Regions from separate parts of the Homo sapiens genome. Here region 1 is linked to region 2. The links are contacts of gene promoters, found by promoter capture Hi-C in human tissues and cell types (Jung and others, 2019). All regions are on one chromosome and are shown on one strand. Each heading gives the region's core, a stretch centred on a gene start or on the middle of the fragment in contact. The rest is flanking DNA. Distances are from core to core; before and after follow the strand shown. Region 1 holds the start of SERPIND1 (serpin family D member 1). Region 2 holds the start of ZNF74 (zinc finger protein 74).

Evidence for each region. Contacts are between HindIII fragments. The study calls those that stand out against the background at their distance.
Region 1: a contact is called between the fragment with the promoter of SERPIND1 here and the fragment with the promoter of ZNF74 in region 2, in 3 of the 25 tissues and cell types used here (heart right ventricle, lymphoblastoid cells and mesenchymal stem cells).

The regions. Positions count from the first base shown.
Region 1 is chr22:20,770,679-20,775,941 of GRCh38, forward strand. It overlaps SERPIND1 (serpin family D member 1), which reads left to right and starts at 3,435. Exons shown (of 5, transcript NM_000185.4): 1 at 3,435-3,467. All of the region lies in intron 19 of PI4KA (phosphatidylinositol 4-kinase alpha), which reads right to left. The HindIII fragment of the contact is 14,489 bases long and covers 1-4,953 here.
Region 2 is chr22:20,390,813-20,396,438 of GRCh38, forward strand. It overlaps ZNF74 (zinc finger protein 74), which reads left to right and starts at 3,339. Exons shown (of 5, transcript NM_003426.4): 1 at 3,339-3,850; 2 at 4,521-4,606. The coding sequence starts at 3,817. RefSeq lists enhancers at 2,449-3,438, 2,840-2,909, 3,380-3,519. The HindIII fragment of the contact is 17,508 bases long and covers 1-5,626 here.

The DNA.
Region 1 (5,263 bases), core at 2,185-4,684, 380 kb after region 2:
TTTTAAACCTGGTAAATCTGGGTACGGGTATACAGGAGTTGTTCTACTACACTATTCTTTCAACTTTTTTGAAAGTTTGAAGTTATTTCAAAAGAAAAAGTTTTCCAAACTTTAGTGATCCTCCTGCCTCAGCCTCCCAAAGTGCTGGGATGATAGGCATGAGCCACCGTGCCTGACCCCTCTGTATATTTTTAGAATTTCATGTTAAAAGATGGAAAAGTCTGGATGAGGTAGTTCACGCCTGTCTTCCCAGCTCTTTGGGAGGCCAAGGTGGGAAGACTGCTTGAAGCCAGACGTTCAAGACCAACTTGGCCAACATAGTGAGACCCCGCTTTTTTCTAACTAAAAAAATTTTTTTCCAAGTTGGAAAAAATATCTAGCCATAAGACAAACCTTGAAACTGCAAAAGAACAATGGAGTATGTGTGACAGGAGGTACTGCTCTACAGTGGGGTTAAAGCCATACACAAGCTGTGGTGGCTCACGCCTGTAATCCCAGCACTTTGGGAGGCCGATGCGGGCGGATCATGAGGTTAGGAGTTCAAGACCAGCCTGGCCAGCATGGTGAAACCCGTCTCTACTAAAAATACAAAACATTAGCCAGACGTGGTGGTGGGCACCTGTAGTCCCAGCTACTAGGGAGGCTGAGGCAGGAGAATGGCGTGAACCCAGGAGGCGGAGCTTGCAGTGAGCTGAGATTGCGCCACTGCACTCCAGCCTGGGCGACAGAGCGAGACTCTGTCTCAAAAAAAAAAAAGCCATACACAAGCTGTTACCACTAAATGGGAAAATGACTGAAAAATGTCAATGTCAAGAGGGACTGAAATCAAATTTTTCCAATAGTGGGTTACATGATCAGAAATCCAAATAGACAGGAAATATGTTGGCTTTATTTATTTATTTATTTATTTATTTATTTATTTAGACAGAGTCTCACTCTGTCACCCAGGCTGGAGTACAGTGGCATGAACTCGGCTCACTGCAACCTTCACCTCCCAGGTTCAAGCGATTGTCCTGCCTCAGCCTCCCGAGTAGCTGGGACTACAGATGTGTGCCACCACACCCAGCTAATTTTTGTATTTTTAGTAGGGACGGGGTTTTACCATGTTGGTCAGGCTGGTCTTGAACTCCTGACCTCAAGTGATCCACCCGCCTTGGCCTCTCAAAGTGCTGGGATTACAGGTGTGAGCCACCACACCTGGCCGGTACTGGCTTTAAAAATAACAAAAGTAATACATACACATAGAAAAAGGTCAAACAAAGAAGTACATAGAATGAAAAATGAATGCTGTGTCCCCTCCCAGACCATTTCTGTGAATAAATATGTAATACCATGAAATGATGAGGACTAACATTTTCTGAATGCCAGGCACCACTCTATGTGCTTTCCACACATTCATTAACCTCATTTAATTTTCTCATTTAATTAATGAGATAAATTAATGTATCTCATTTAATTTTCACAACAACCTCATGCAGTAGGTGTAACTGTCACCCTCATTTCAGAGAGCAGAATACTGAGAGCTGGAGGCCAAGGGGCAATTTCAGCCAGGGTGGCTGGTGACGCCTCGGTGAAACCAAGAGCGAACAGTGAGAGCAGCGGCCACCTGCTGGTCTGCAGGGATGGTGTCCTGGGCAGAAAGAATAGCAAGTGCCAGGGCTGTGCTGGGGCCGGGCTTTGCATGTGTGAGAACAAGACAGAGAATGAGGGAGGTGGGCCCACGAGGAGTGTGGGCACAGACAGCAGCCTCTGCCTGTGGTGCCACGCTGAAGACTCAGTATTGTATGTGACAGATGAAGGCTCTAAGAAGACAGCTCTGACAAAAGCTAGAGTGCAAAATCAGACTCAGACACAACCACCGGTCTGTGTCCTGAACACAATGGACCTTTACACTCTGGAATTTCTCAAACGGAGCAATGCACAGACACCCCCATGGGCCCCTTGCACACCCGCAGATTCTCCTAGGAGTCACATTCTCTCTTCAGATAGACTCTGGGTGCCGACACTCCCAAACATGCTCTTGAGGAGCAGTCTCTGTGATAAGCTGATCTTCCAGACAATCCAGAATATTCTTAAAACTTTTTAGATCATAAAATTTAAAACACAAATTAAAAAACAAATTATCATAAGGCCGGGCACAGTGACTCATGCCTGTAATCCCAGCACTTTGCAAGGCTGAAGCAGGAGGATCACTTGAGCCCAAGAGTTCAAGACCAGCCTAGGCAACATAGTGAGACCCTGTCTCTACAAAAAAGTCAAAAGTTAGCTAGACATGGTGGTGTGCACCTGTATTCCCAGCTACTTGCAGGGCTGAGGTGAGGAGGATTGCTTCAGCTCGGGAGGTTGAGGCTGCAGTGAGCCAAGATCACGCCACTGCACTCCAGCCTGGGTAACAGAGTGAGACCCTGTCTCAAAAAACACATAGGGCCAGGCGTGGTGGCTCACGCATGTAATCCCAGCACTTTGGGAGGCCGAGACGGGAGGATCACTTCACTCCAGGAGTTCAACACCAGCCTGGCCAACATAGTGAAACCCCGTCTCTACTAAAAATACAAAAAATTAGTTGGACATGGTGGTGTGCGCCTGTAATCTCAGCCACTCAGGAGGCTGAGGCAGGAGAACGCTTGAACTTGGGAGACAGAGGTTGCAGTGAGCTGAGATCGCACCACTGCACTCCAGCATGGGCAGCAGCGCGAAACTCTGTCTCAAAACAAACAAACAAACAAACAAACACCCATAAACACAAAATGTATCACAGCCTCAGAGATCCCCACGAATGCCTAAGTGGCCCTGAATTTGGGAGGCACTGCTCAGTAATAGTCCTATCTGTCCCACAACAGACAGGAGTGCTGGGCTGCACCTACTGGCAACAAACACAGCAACCCTTGACTGAAGAAAGGTCCATGCCACAATCCCCTTATTCTGTAAGCCACTAATTTTGTCCTCTCTCCTCCACCTTTCACTGAGGAACGAGCTCTTGGAAGGACAGGGACACCCGCCTAGTAGCTGAGCCAGCCACATCAGTCCTGGAGAGCAGGTGGAGGGCAGATGCTGTGATCATCCCAGAAGAGAGGACACAGTTGGAGGCAGATGCATGGTCTCTACTTTCAGCTACCCTCAATGCAGCCTGGTCCCCAGAGGCCTGAAGAGCGCCTTGTTTATGTGGTGACCTCAAGAGGGGCTGCTCCTGCACCAAGGCTATGTGTGCATGCTAACACAGTAACCGTCATATACTCAAAGTGTCAGCTCTAAGAACTGGAGATGAGGAGCTGCAAGCCACTCTACAGTTATCAAAGGCACAGCTGAGGGGGTTTGTGCTGACCAAGCTGGTTGCCTGGTGTTTGGATTGGGACTTATTTACTTTGGAAAATATGCAGCAACAGCCCAGCACCAAAGTTCACATCAAAATCCCACTGATGACCTTGGCTGCTTTCATCTCTGAAGCGCCACTTCTCAGAAACACAGAGGTAAGTTGGGTTTCTAATGTTTCTGCTGATTATAAATTATTTTTGGTGTTTACGGATAGGCAACTGGTTCATTTTTCTAGCAAACTAAGAATTCAGAAGCTTTCTACACTGTTTTAGAAGTGGGAAATGGTTTCATTTTTCAGTGTGCCTATTATAAAATTGTGTCAGTTCCATTGTTGGGAGAGTTGACAAACTTAGAATAGGAGCTGTGGAATAGATGAAAATATTGTACTTATATTAAATTAATCGAATTGGATAACTGTCCTGTGATTATGTATGAGAATATCCTTGCTCTTGGGTATTTTCCCTGAAGTATTAGTATTAAAGGTTAGAGGGGCCGGGTGCAGTGGCTCACGCCTGTAATCCCAACACTTTGGGAGGCCGAGGCGGGTGGATCACGAGGTCAGGAGTTCAAGACCAGCCTGACCAACATGGTGAAGCCAAGTCTCTACTAAAAATACAAAAATTAGCTGGGCGTGGTGGCACGCGCCTGTAATCCCAGCTACTCAGGAGGCTGAGGCAGGAGAATCGCTTAAACCCGGGAGGCAGAGGTTGCAGTGAGCGGAGATCGTGCCACTGCACTCCAGCCTGGACAACAGAGTTAGACTCCGTCAAAAAAAAAAAAAAAAAGAAGAAAAAAGAAAAAATGTTAGAGGAACAAGATATAGGAGACCTACTCTCAAATGGTCTAGAAGAAAAAATGTGTATGTGCATGCCTGTGAGAACACACACGTACGTACACACACACACAGATAATGACAGGGCAAAGGTTCCAAAATTTTAAACCTGGTAAATCTCGGTACGGGTATACAGGAGTTGTTCTACTACACTATTCTTTCAACATTTTTGGAAGTTTGAACTTACTTCAAAATAAAAAGTTTTCCAAACTTTAGGCAGTTACTTCTCTCCCATTCTGCCTGCTCTGTTGGGCCTGGAGACCATACACCAGGAGGGATGACGGTTTATCAAGTGTTATGCTCTGATGCGTGACTGAAAAGGCCAACCCAGCTCTGGCAATTAGCAAGAAAGCACAATATGAAGTTCCCAGGAAAAAAAAAAAGCAAAACAAACTTTTGAATGATTTATCTTTAAAATATATTGTTTCTCTTCAAACAGTAATCTGGATTTAATCACAACCTAGTGATAGTTTTTAAACGTCTTCTACAATGTTTGTTATACTAAATAGCAAAACATCAGGAAGATTTACCTTCAGATCTTTAATTTCAATCCATAAAAGATATCAGAGATATTTTCTCCTTCCTCTGGTAAGGGAATGACGAAAACTATTTTTGGCTTTTTATCAGATAATGTGGGAACAGGGTATAAGAAGTTTCCAAATATAACTTCTGAATACCGGGATAAAACATGCATGTCTTTACTCTGCCACTCTATCTGGCCTCAGATACGTTTTCCTGAATGCTTATTTATTCAAGTTGGTTTTTGTTTTGTTCTTTAACCTTATTTTTATCTGAGAAGAAAACATTTTCCCCCTTTGTTCCTTCTTCTTTTGGCTTTCTTTTTTAAAATAGAGATGAGGTCTTGCTATGTTGCTCCAGCTGGTCTTGAACTCCTGGGCTCAAGCGATCCTCCTGCCTTGGCCTCCCAAGATGCTAAGATTACAGGTGTGAGCCCCTATGCCTGGTCTTCTTCTTCTTGATCTTAGCCAAAAGGCCAAGAAGTGATAAGAGGAGGACACTTGAAGTGTAGTTGGGCAAGGAGCCTTCTACCAGCTGCTTACTTTCTTTGTTCCTGACTTTTAAAAGTGTGTTGCTATTGATACACAGTCTCCTGATATG
Region 2 (5,626 bases), core at 2,089-4,588:
AGACATAGATGATACATCCACAATCTACAGAGATGAACTGCAGAGTTACATGCACAGATATGCCAGTCATACATTCAGATCTGTGTAAACAGTGAGGCACACACACACATACACATGTGCACTTATACAGAAAGACTCAGACCCAGCCAGGCATGGTGGCTCAGGCCTGTAATCCTAGCACTTTGGGAGGTCGAGGCGGGTGGATCACGAGGTCAAGAGATTGAGACCATCCTGGCTAACATGGTGAAACCCCATCTCTACTAAAATTACAAAAAAATTAGCCGGGTGTGATGGCGGGCACCTGTAGTCCCAGCTACTCAGAAGGCAGAGATTGCAGTGAGCTGAGATTGCGCCACTGCACTCCAGCCTGGACAACAGAGCGCGACTCCATCTCAAAAACAAAAAAAGAAAGACTCAGACCTGACCTGTTAGTCAACAGCCAGATGCCAACAGATAATCACATTAGACTCATCAGCAAGCACACCGTGCACACAAGTTCCACTCCCATGTACAGGTTCCTGTCCCATGTACACAAGCCTGCACACAAACACGTATCCAGACTCCAGAACTGTTGAGACAGTGCCCACATACACACTCATAGAGTCACCTGTGCACAGGTGCACGTACACATTGTTTCACAGAGGCACACCAGGACAGAAACACATAAGAAATGTGAGGCAAAAGCGGACCCACACCTACACCTGTAAGATACACAGAGAAACAAACACATACACAAACTTACACATAGACTCATGCACTGTGTAATCAACAGTTCTATACCCCACCAAGGCTCTTGTCCTGGTGTGTCCAGAATTGGTGGGTTCTTGGTTTCACTGACTTCAAGAATGAAGCCACAGACCCTCGTGGTGAGTGTCACAGTTCTTAAACGCAGCGTGCGCGGAGTTTCTTCCTTCTGGTGCGTTCGTGGTCTCGCTAGCTTCAGAAGTGAAGCTACAGACCTTCGCAGTGTTAACAGCTCATAAAGGCAGCGTGGACCCAAAGAGCTAGACACAAAAGTTCTCCACGTCCCCACTAGATTAGCTAGATACAGAGTGTCCACTGGTGCATTCACAAACCCTGAGCTAGACACAGAGTGCTGATTGGTGCATTTACAAACCTTGGGCTAGATACAGAGTGCCAATTGGTGTATTTACAATCCCTTAGCTAGACATAAAGGTTCTCCAAGTCCCCACCAGAGTAGCTAGATACAGTGTTGATTGATGCATTCACAAACCCTGAGCTAGACACAGAGTGCTGATTGGTGTGTTTACAAACCTTGAGCTAGATACAGAGTGCCGATTGGTGTATTTTCAACCCCTTAGCTAGACATAAAGGTTCTCCAAGTCCCCAGCAGAGTAGCTAGATACAGTGTCGATTGATGCATTCACAAACCCTGAGCTAGACACAGGGTGCTGATTGGTGTGTTTACAAACCTTAAGCTAGACACAGAGTGCCCACTGGTGTATTTACAATCCCTTAGCTAGACATAAAGGTTCTCCAAGTCCCCACCAGACTCAGAAGCCCAGCTGGCTTCACCCAGTGGATCCCGCACCGGGGCCGCAGGTGGAGCTGCCTTCCAGTCCCGCGCCGTGCGCCCGCACTCCTCAGCCCTTGGGTGGTCGATGGGACTGGGCGCCGTGGAGCAGGGGGCGGCGCTTGTCGGGGAGGCTTGGGCCGCGCAGGAGCCCACGGCGGTGGGTAGGCTCAGGCATGGCGGGCTGCAGGTCCCGAGCCCTGCCCCGCGGGGAGGCAACGAAGGCCCGGCGAGAAGTCGAGCACAGCAGCTGCTGGCCCAGGTGCTAAGCCCCTCACTGCCCGGGTCCGGCTGGCAGCTCCGAGTGCGGGGCCCGCTGAGCCCACGCCCACCCGGAACTCGTGCTGGCCCGCAAGCGCTGCGCGCAGTCCCGGTTCCCGCCCGCGCCTCTCCCTCCACACCTCTCGGCAAGCTGAGGGAGCCGGCTCCGGCCGCAGCCAGCCCAGGAAGGGGCTCCCACAGTGCAGCGGTGGGCTGAAGGGCTCCTCAAGCGCGGCCAGAGTGGGCGCCAAGGCCGACTAGGCGCCGAGAGCGAGCAAGGGCTGTGAGGACTGCCAGCACGCTGTCCCCTCTCACTGGGTTGCTATTAAAAATGGGCGCTGAATATAAAAATTAACCGGGCGTGGTGGTGCATGTCTGTAAGTCCCAGCTACTCCGGAGGCTGAGGTGGGAGAATAGTTTGAGCCCGAGAGACTGAGGCTACGGTGAGCCGTGATTGTGCAACTGCACTCCAGCCTGGGCGACAGAGTGAGACCCAGTCTCAAAACAAAATCAAACACGGGCGCTGCCCTGGGCAGGGGAGGTCTGGGCACAGCTGTGCTGATGTGGGCAGTGGACAGGTGTCACGTGAGAGCCTGTGGCCAAGCCTAAGCTGCGGTTAAGGTGGGAGGCTGAAGGGTTTGGAGTGTGCACCACCCCGGACCACCTCTCAGTAGGAATGTGGCAATGCACTTCGGTGCTGGATTCCTACTTCTGGCTGTGTGATTTGCGACACGTTACCCCACGCACCTGTACCACAACTTCCTCATCTCCCAAATGGGATGACAGTAGTTAGCAAACCTCCCTGGACTGCTGTGAGCATTCTGCCAGAAAAATGTACTCCAAGCTCTTGAAGTAGGCCTGGCGTTTGGTTGGTGCTCAGTACATATTCAATGTTTCTGTCGCTGGCGTCATCACTGTGTTCATGGCAGAGCTCTGTGCCGCCAGGACTGGGCCGCCACCCAGACCTTCCTTTCCCGCCCCAGGGGTGAACTGTGGACAGGACCCTCTGGGGGGACTAGGCCAAGGCTCTCCCACCTCTGGGGACCCGCGCCCATGGGCCTCAGATATGTGGCTCGAGAAGGGGGAGTGGGGGCAGGGCCCCTGGAAAACCCCTCGAGGCCAGACCCACCACTCCCAATATCCGTAAGACCAGGGGCTTGAGTCTTTCCTGCAGACAGATGTGGGCAGGAACCCACCCGACTCCCAGCTACGTGGGGACGTGGACGAACTAACAGGACAAATTCTAGTTCCTGGACACCGCCCTCCCAGTATCCTCGCAATTAGACACCCATGCAGCGGCACTACACTGATCCGCACACGGAGATACACAGCGACATCCGCCCGCAAGAGCATGGTGGGTGCCGGAGCTCCCGGCTGTGGGCCCAGGAACTACATTTCCTAGAAGGATGTGCTAGATACTCGTTCGCGTCGGGACGCAAGCACCGGCCCGAACTCGCTCTAGGAAATGGAGTCTGACGCCTGCGCGGCGCAAACGCTCCCGGGAGGTGTAGTTTGCGCCTATTTCGCGCAGGCGCGCTTTCCCGCAGCGGCCGCCTGCTGCTCTTTGTGGCAGTCGCAGTCCTTTTGTGGGAGTCCGGTCTGTCCACTTGCCGGTCCCTCAGACCGTCGGCGGTCTCTGTCCGCTTCGGGACCTGTCCGCTGGTCGCTCCGCGTCCGATGGCTCCTGGCCGCGGAACCTTAGGCCTGGCCCTGGTCTCCGAGCGCGGGTTCGCCGGGAGGAGCGTGTGGCGGGGGTGTGCCGGGGCGTGAGTGCGCCGAGCATGGGGCTGAGCCTGGTGTGGGGAGTGGGTATCTGCGGAGCCGGCCTGAACCCCACCTCAGCCGGGCGCGGGGAGGGGGCTCCGTGCGTGTGATCGTGCAGCTGTGAGCGCGTGGCCGCCCCGCGGGGCTCCGCTGCAGGCCCCTCAGCCCCAGGAGCAGTACTCGCTCTTCAGGGCCTGCCCTGGATCCTGGAGGCTACACAGCTGCCCACTCCTCCTGGGGAGGCTGCCGTGGAGGCCATGGAGATCCCTGCCCCGGAGCCCGAGAAGACAGGTACAGCTTCACTCTTGTAGTCAGTATGTCTGTGGATTTGCACTTGAGGATATTGACACTCAGAGAGATCAGGCCAGTTTCCCAGAAGCATCCAGCATCTTTTTTTTTTTTTTTAAATGGAATCTCACTCTGTCACCCAGGCGGGAGTGGTGCAATGGCTTGATCTCCGCTCACTGCAACCTCTGCTTCCCGGGTTCAAACTATTCTCCCGCCTCAACCTCCCAAGTAGTTGGGATTGCAGGCGCGCGCCACCACGCCCGGCTAATGTTTGTATTTTTAGTAGAGACGGGGTTTTGCCATGTTTCCCAGGCTGGTCTTAAGCTCAAGCGATCCGCCCGCCTCGGCCTCCCAAAGTGCTGGGATTACAGGCGTGAGCCATCGCTCCTGGCCTCCTGCTTCTTTCTTCCCCGCGCCCAATCATTTGTTCCCACTCAGACGTGCTTGATTGGGGGTAGCAGCTCTTTTCGTCATGAATTGGAGTGTCTGAGACACAGGCAGATTATTCCTCGATGCTGTTTCTGTTGGTGCTAGCTACTGGGGCTCGTTCCCCACCTGGCCTTGCTGGCAGGTTCTGCCTCCTCTCTGATTCTCACTTGTGCCACGACAGGTGGGCTTTAAGCTCAGCCGTGAGCCTGGTAGCCGTGACCTTGACTCATTTCTCCTTCGCCAGCTCTTTCCTCTCAGGATCCTGCTCTTTCCCTGAAAGAGAATCTCGAGGATATATCGGGTTGGGGTCTTCCCGAAGCCAGGTCCAAGGTGAGTGGCTGTGTGTTCTTCCTTCTTTATGAAGAGGGTTGGCACATTCCCTCCCCAGCCCTGGATCGTCAGCCTTCCACAGACCTTCACCCGGGTACCTGCTGGCCAGTCCTCAGGAAGCTCTGGGCAGTGGGAACAGCTCCAAGTGAAGAGTCCAGATGTTGCCCGAGGTGTGCCCTCGAGATGTGCTCTATTGAATGTCTCGCCCAGTCCAATTCAGTGGGTCAGTTGCTGGGGATCTCTCTGCCCAGCGCTGTGCTGGGAGCTCTGAGGAGTGGTTTTAGTGGAATCTGAGAAAGTAGTTGACGGCTCACATGGGGTCGCTTTGCCTATCCACGTGCTGGCCAGGGGTTGGTGCAGGATGTTTGCACGGTTGGTTTACTGGGACTGGAATCAGACAGGGGCACGTGGAGCAGCTCAGGAAGGGCTGGATTGCAGCACTTGGTTAAGAGTGGCGGTAGGGGACACATCCCTGTGTGCTTTCCTCTGTACCCAGCCCCTGGCATGGGGCCTTCATGGAGAGTCCTGGAGATTTAGAGAATCTGGGGGCTCAGCAAGGAATTGGCCCTGGGAACTTCTGCAGCCAAATGGGACCCAGATCCCTCCTTTTACAGACTGTGAACTCTGTTCCTCATTTTGTTTTTCTACCGCAACCACCTCACCCCATGGTTGTATTTAGAAGGGTGCAGTTGACAAAGAGAGCACAGTAGAGTGAAAGATGTGGAGGAATAAGGGGTCTTTGGGTTTTTGTTTTTTTTTTAGCATTTTGTGATTTTGTCAGTCTGCCACTCAAAAGAGGTGATGGCAGATTATAGCCAGCTAGAAACAGCTGCAAAACGTGTATTGTGAGCTGTGCCTCACTTCTGTAGTGTGTCACAATGCTTTATAGTCCTCAAGAAACTTGACAGTCAAATGCAATGCATGTTCCTTGCTTAGGGGATAGATCCAAAAAAATTGATAAAGGGCAGTTTGGGACAAGAGGAAATTTGAAAATGGGCTGTATCTTAGGTCATATTGTAT